Linked DNA regions of Homo sapiens: region 1 is linked to region 2. Evidence: promoter capture Hi-C in human tissues and cell types (Jung and others, 2019). All regions are on one chromosome and are shown on one strand. The core of a region is centred on a gene start or on the middle of the fragment in contact, and the rest is flanking DNA. Distances in the headings are between cores, read along the strand shown.

The links. The method cuts DNA at HindIII sites, captures the fragments that hold promoters and counts their contacts. A contact is called where the count stands out against the background at its distance.
Region 1: a fragment that was not itself captured here is called in contact with the fragment with the promoter of SLC25A33 in region 2 in 1 of the 25 tissues and cell types used here (liver).

What each region holds. Positions count from the first base shown.
Region 1 is chr1:9,573,823-9,577,415 of GRCh38, forward strand. The region is part of intron 5 of SLC25A33 (solute carrier family 25 member 33); the gene reads left to right. It also overlaps the pseudogene RPL9P11. Among named protein-coding and RNA genes, the nearest start is that of TMEM201, 13 kb to the right of the region's middle. The HindIII fragment of the contact is 3,228 bases long and covers 119-3,346 here.
Region 2 is chr1:9,537,281-9,541,202 of GRCh38, forward strand. SLC25A33 (solute carrier family 25 member 33) reads left to right here and starts at 2,185. Exons shown (of 7, transcript NM_032315.3): 1 at 2,185-2,467. The coding sequence starts at 2,412. RefSeq lists silencers at 1,941-2,460, 2,481-2,840 and enhancers at 1,950-2,244, 2,911-3,040. The HindIII fragment of the contact is 17,899 bases long and covers 1-3,922 here.

The DNA of each region.
Region 1 (3,593 bases), core at 483-2,982, 36 kb after region 2:
TCCAAAGGCCCTCAGCTGTAATAGGTTTCTACCCTCAAGCTCCAGCCAGGGGTTTGTAACATTTTGTGGGGCTCTGTGGATTCCTTTGGTAGTCTGGTGACACCTGCAGGCCCTTTTTAGAATAATGTTGTTTTTTGAGTTTTTTTGTTTTTTTGTTGTTGTTGTTGTTGTTTTGTTTTTTTGTTTTGAGATAGGGTCTTACTTGTTGCCGAAGCTGAAGTGCAGTGGTCCAATCTTGGCTCACTGCAATCTATGCCTCCTAAGTAGAATAATGTATTTTGTTTCCTTTTCTTTTCTTTTTTTTTTTTTTTTGTTCTTTTGAGGCAGGGCCTCATCTATCACCCAGCCTCGACCTCCCAGGCTCAAGCAATCCTCCTGCCTCAGCCTCACCTCCTCAGTAGTTTGAGACCACAGGTGCATGCCACCACACCCAGCTAATTTTGTTTTTCTTGTAGAGATGGATCTTGCCATGTTGCCCAGGCTGGTCTCAACTCCTGGGCTCAAGCAGTCCTCCTGCCTTGGCTTCCCAAAGTGCTGGTATTACAGGCGTGAACCACCACACCAGGCCTTAATAAGGTTTTTAAAAATACACTTGTCAGTGATACAGTAGTATGCCTCTTTAACACATTAAATTAATAAGATATGGCAGTAGTCCAGTAACTACTATAATTTCTAAGAAATGATAAACAGTGTCCTGTGATGTTTTCAACAAATGTAATGTGACATGAAAATATTTCTGTGTGTGTCAAATCACAGTTACTACTGCTGCTACTACTGTGGCCTGTGTATTTACATTCGTAATGAATACAATTAACCCAAGCTAATGGAACCCGGTGTAAAGAGTGTTTTAGACTTAATAAAGCTAAGCTTCATCTAAGTTGTAAAAAACCCTAGCTGAAATAAAATAAACTATGAAGGTGGCTTTAATACTTCTGAAGACACAATAGCTAAGACCCAAATTGGGATTAGATACCCCACTATGCTTAGCCCTAAACTCCAATAGTTAACAACTTCAACTATTGGATTTCGGTTAGGGATTAGGGTTAAAGATGCATTTTCTCCCCAGTCCAAGTGAAGGAACTACCAGCATTCTATTAAGAACCCCTGTAGGCCGGGTGCGGTGGCTCACACCTGTAATCCCAGCACTTTGAGAGGCTGAGGCGGGCAGATCACGAGGTCAGGAGATCGAGACCAACCTGGCTAACACGGTGAAACCCTGTCTCTACTAAAAATACAAAAAATAAGCCGGGCGTGATGGTGGGCGCCTGTAGTCCCAGCTACTTGGGAGACTGAGGCAGGAGAATGGCGTTAACCCGGGAGGTGGAGCTTGCAGTGCGCCAAGATCGTGCCACTGCACTCCAGCCTGGGTGACAGAGCGAGACTCTGGCTCAAAAAAAAAAAAAAAAAAAAAAATAAGAACCCCTGTATTACTGTGTTGCCTGGAAATGTATGCACTGGAAACTTCCAGCCAGTCCACTCTGATTTTCAGCTGCCTCTAAAGAAAGGAGGCAGAGCTGGGCGTAGTGGCTCATGCCTGTAATCCCAGCACTTTGGGAGGCCGAGGCGGGTGGGTCACAAACTCAGGAGTTCGAGACCAGCCTGGCCAACATGGTGAAACCCCGTCTCTACTAAAAATACAAAAATTAGCCAGGCGTGGTGGTGGGCGCCTGTAATCCTAGCTACTTAGTAGAGTGAGGCAGGAGAATCACTTGAACCCGGGAGGTGGAGGTTGCAGTGAGCCGAGATCACACCACTGCACTTCAGCATGGGTGATAGAGTAAGACTCTGTCTGGAAAAAAAAACGAAAGCAAAACGAAAGGAGGCAGGGAGTACCCCAGGAAGGGTAGGTAGGGGCCCCAGTTCATTTTTCTTCCTAATGACCATGATAACCTCTGCATGAGTCACTTGACTCCAAGTTCGCCCAATCAATCTATTCTGCCCAAAAGAGCCTTCTAACATGCATCAGGTATAATCATTTGAACAGACCACTTGTTCAGACTCTTTTGATGAATCTGTTCCTCTCAGGGTAAATTCCTAATTCAGCAGTCCTGTAGTTTTCCAAAAATGTCATGTGCTTTTATTGCTCTGTCTCCCCACATATGCTGTCCCTCACCAGAGATTCCCCCTTCCCCTTCCTGGTCATGCTGTCACCTGTTGTGGAAGCCTTTGGTAATTCCTCCTAATTCCAAGTGTCCCATAGTAAACTCATATCACTTCTGTTTAGCAAGGGATAAATGCGTCCATCAGCTGAGAGCCTGTATATGTATTCTTGTCATTCTGCCTAATGATGGTGCTCAAGAATACTTTAGAACTTTGGGTGAGCTCTGTTAATATTTGTCTCTCAGCAGTGAATATTTGTTGCTTGCACTAGTCACTAGGGAAACAGCAGGGAATTAAGACCTAGCTTCTAGGAACTTACAGCTTCACAGATAAGATAATTAAAGTTTGGTGGGATAAGGTTGCTGAGGGTGCCACTAGACCTTCAAGAGTCACCCAGTACAGGTTGGGTTAAGAGAGAGAAGGTTGGGAGGGCCTTCAGAGGCAGCAGCACCCAACTCCCATCTTAAGAATAGCCAGGTGGGCTTTGCCGTGTCTACTGTGAAAATGAAGACCATTCACAGCAATCAGACTGTTGTCATTCCAGAAAATGTCAACATTACCCTGAAGAGATGCACAGTTACTGTGAATGGCCCCAGAGGAACCATGCAGAGGGACTTCAGTCACATCAATGTAGAACTCAGTCTAAAGAGGCTCTGGAGTGCCACACGGTGGGGTAACAGAAAGGAACTGGCTACCGTTCGAACTGTTGGTAGTTATGTGCAGAACACGATCAAGGGTGTTACACTGGGCTTCTGTTACAAGATGAGGTCTGCGTATGCTCACTTCCCCACCGACATTGTTATCCAGGAGGATGGGTCTCTTGTTGAAATCCGAAATTTCTTGGATGAAAAATACACCCGCAGGGTTCAGATGAGACCAGGTGTTGCTTGTTCAGTATCTCAAGCCTAGAAAGATGAATTTAATCCTTGAAGGAAATGACATCGAGCTTGTTTCAAATTCAGTTGCCTTGATTCAGCAAGCCACAACAGTTAAGGATATCAGGAAGTTTGGGGATGGTATCTATGTCTCTGAAAAAGGAACTGTTCAGCAGGCTGATGAATAAGATCTAAGAGTTGTCCCGCTACAGAAACAACATGCTGGATGATTCCTAAGACCTATTGGTGATATTTAAATGATGCCATAAAAGACATTGATTTGGGAAGAAAAGAATAGCCAGGTGGGGGCGGCAGAGAAGAGTCTTTTGGGCAGAGAGAAGGTGAGTGTAGAAATCTTGAGTCAAGAAAGCATGGTTAGGCTGGACTCGGTGCCTCACACCTGTAATCCCAGTACTTTGGGAGGCCGAGGTGTGCGGATCACTTGAGCTCAGGATTTCGAGACCAGCCTGGCCAACATGGTGAAACCCTGTCCTACAAAAATTAGCCGGGTGTGGTGTCATGCCTCGGGAGGCTGAGGCAGGAGAATGGCGTGAACCCGGGAGCCTGTAATCCCAGGGAGGCTGAAGCAGGAGAATTGCTTGAACCCAGAAGTTGAGG
Region 2 (3,922 bases), core at 935-3,434:
TGAATCTGGGAGGTGGAGTATGCAGTGAGCCAAGATGGTGCCACTGCACTCCAGCCTGGGTGACAGAATGAGGCCTCCTCTTAAAATAATAGGCCAGGTGCGGTGACTCACGCCTGTAACCCCAGCACTCTGGGAGGCTGAGGTGGGCGGATCACGAGGTCAGGAGTTTGAGACCAGCCTGACCAACATGGTGAAACCCTGTCTCTACTAAAAATACAAAAATTAGCCCAGTGTGGTGGTGCATGCCTGTAATCCCAGCTACTCAGGAGGCTGAGGCAGGAGAATTGCTTGAACCCGGGAGGCAGAGGTTGCAGTGAGACGAGATCGTGCCACTGCACTCCAGCCTGGGTGACAGAGCAAGACTCCATCTCAAAATAAATAAATAAAAATTAAAAAAAACATATAATAAAAATAAAAAATTATTTATTTTTACTTTTTTTTTTCTTTTGTAGAGACAGGGTTTTGCCACGTTATCCAGGCTGGTCTTGAGCTACTAGACTCAAGTCATCCACTCTTCTCAGCCTCCCAAAGTGCTGGGATGACAGGAGTGGGCCACTGTGCTGGGTTTTCTTTACTTCTTTTTCTCAGATATCTCATGCCCTAGTATGGCTTCCCCTTCTCCTAGGCCTGGGAGCAATGGCTTTAATAGTAACCACTGTATTTGCATTTTGGAGGACTGCTCCTAAGAGCTGTTTTTATTTAAAGAGTCCCAGCAATCAAATACAGATTGGCTGGCTAGCTCCCACGTTTCCACACAATTCCCTCCTACTTAAGCTCTCTATGTTTACACACAGGACATCTAACTGCTTGTTCTGGTCAAGGTACAGCTTTCCGGAGCTCTGAGAGACGGAAGAGAAAGGGTTGGTACGTTCTGCAGGTGAATGGTGGTCTGCTGAGAGAGAGACAGACAGAGAGACATAGTCCAAGGTAACAGGAAAGCTTCTGGCACTGGTGCCTGTGCAGTCAGTGGTGTCACTGCCAGGACAGGAAATAGAGGTAGAGCAGGTTTGGGGGAGGGGAAGAATGATAAGTTCAATTTGGGACCTTTATTCATTAGCTCCTTGGGCATTACTAGGTGGCAGGTACTGTGTCAGGAACAACTGTGAACAAAAGAAATAAGGTCCCTGCTCTCCTGAAGCTTACATTCCTGTATGGGAAGGACAACTTAAATAAATCAACAAACTAACTGCAGAAGCCCTGGTTCTATAGTCGTGTGACAGACTGCGCTGCAAAGGCGGCCAGGAAAGTCTCCATCTGGGGGAGACCTGGAGATTAGAAGATGTCAGGTTGAGTATGACAATGACCCAGTGACATAGGCTGAGAGAAGCAGTTTGGATATCTAGGTCTGGGCTGGAGATGATCAGAAAAGAAGCAAAAAGCATACTGCAAAATATACGCAGCATATACTACTACTTATAGGGAGATCAAAAATCCACATAATGATAATGATTATTAATTATTTGAGACAGAGTCTCGCTTTGTCGTCCAGGCTGGAGTGCAGTGGCAAGATCTTGGCTCACTGCAGCCCCCGCCTCCCGGGCTCAAGCGATTATCCAGCCTCAGCCACCCAAGTAGCTGGGATGACAGGGGTGCGCCGCCTCGTCCGGCTAACTTTTGTATTTCTAGTAGAGACACGGTTTCGCCGTCTTGGACAGGTTGGTCTGTAACTCCTGGCTTCAGGCGATCCGCCCGCCCGCCTCGGCCTCCCAAAGTGTTGAGATTGCAGGCGTGAGCCACCGTGAGGGCCTCACTGATTATCTAAGGCTGTTTAGATTATAGATTTTTAGATTATGTTTTTGTTTCCCTAAACGGGGTGGTGAGTACAGAGGTGTGAGATGTAACACGTAATTTGTACACCTTTTGCACACGTAAATATCACAAAGTAAACTTTTAAAATAAGGCAAGGCCTAGGGCCTCGCGAGGCTTCTCTGAGGAGCGAGGACCAGTCAGTCACAGCCAGTTTCCACTGCCTCCACGCTCCGGCCTAGGCCAGCCCCTCTCCCCAGTCATTCGCTCGGGGCTGGCTCCGCCCCAGAACTGCGCAACCTCCCCGCCCACATCCGCGTCCTAACCAATGAGCGCTCGAAATTTGGGTCCACACCCCCGTCACGCCCCGCCCCAGACTCGCGCGCCCGTGACGTCACGGTCCGGCCCCCGCCACGTGACGGCCGCGCGCCGGGCTCTAGCTCCCCGCCGGGCTCGCGCCGCAGAGGCCGGTGAGGCGCCGGCGGCCACGCCGCGGAAGGCGCGGGCCGAGCAGAGCCGGGCGTTGGAGCCCGCGCGCGCATGGAGGCGTTGCCGGCAGCCCCCTGAGGGCAGCGGGGAGACAAGACCCGGCGACCTCGCGCATCCCTCGAGCCGCCACGCGCTCTCGCCACCGGGCGGCGACGGGCCGCGGAGCCGGCGCGGCCATGGCGACGGGCGGCCAGCAGAAGGAGAACACGCTGCTTCACCTCTTCGCCGGCGGGTGAGTTCCCGGGCCCAGCCGCGCGCGCCCCACCGCCTGCGGTCCCCTCGGCCTTCGCCCCGGGCGCGGCCCCAGCCTCCCGCGGCGGTTACCGGCCTTCCCCGGGCTACGGCGCCGGCGCTCGGGAGGAGGAAGTCCCGGCGTCGGGGACTGGTGGGCAGGGCCGAGGGAGGGGGTCGGGCCTTCCTCACCCCTACGTCCTGACCGCAGCCCCGAGGGCGGCTGTGCCCCGCCGCCCGTCCTCCCCGCGGCGTCCCCAGCTTTTCCCCATTCTGAAGAGTCAGTGGCCGGTGAGTGGTGCTCGGCGGCGGTCCAGCCTGGACGCTGTGGCGCGGCCCCCCCTCCCCCGCCCCCTTCTCCTGGGGCCTCTCCCGAAGCGCAGCGCCTCAGAGCCCGTGGTAGGATCGCTGATGCTCGGGTGTGCCCGAGGTTCCTCAGGGCAGCGCGGGAGGTCATCCGGACGGGCAAAAAGGTCTGCGGACGTTGGACGTCAGCAAGGCCTGGGTGGTGCTGGTGAACGGTGATGCTTGCGGCCACACGCGGGGTGGCTAAGCCAGGGACCCGAACTCATATGAGGTCTGGAAGGTGTGTTGAGACACTTCTCGCCGGCTGGTAGACGCTTCCAACGCCAGAGACCGCAGAATTGTAAGGTGTTCCTTGTTTTGAAAGCTGCATTAGGTCTATGGTCAGGCACCTTTTTTCCAGCGGAGACAATGCATTTTTAGGAGGTTGAGTTCTGCGGTTAGGAAGGGAGATGGTACCCCTCGCCACCTCCCCTTGTCACCTCCCGCCGAGAATAGAAGGTAAAATATTTTTGAGTATTAGTAATTTTCTTTTTTCCTTTATCACAGCCGGTGGCTTGGGGTCCTTTCGGAGTCTTACAGATATTTGGAGTATTAATTTGAGGACCTCATCGGCCTGGCACAGGAATTTTTGAGTGTAGGATATTTTGCATAAAATAGTTTATTCTGGGATGATCATCTTGGCTTGAGTAGTTGCAGCCTGGATTCCTACCTGGATATGTTCCTTACAACAAACAATGGTTGAGAAACTTATCTTGGAAGATGACTGATGAAAGCGTCCCTGAGCTTTTTTTGTACTTGTATTGTGGGCAGTCACCAGGTTACTTTAACCAAAAACTTCGGTGGGTCTTCATAGATTGGAAGAGTTTCTCATTCATCTCTTCCCTGTCATTCATTCCCTTGCAACCCTTCCCTCCATGTCTCCATTGAGACTTCCTTTTTTTTTTTGAGAGGGAGTCTTCCTCTGTCGCCCAGGCTGGAGTGCAGTGGTGCGATCTTTGGGCTCACTGCAACTTCCGCCTCCCGGATTCAGGCGATTCTCCTGCCTCAGCCTCCCGAGTAGCTGGGATTACAGGCCCCGCCACCAAGCCTGGCTAATTTTTTTTTTCTTTTTTTTTTTTTGAGACGGAGTTTCGCTCTGTAGCCCAGGCTG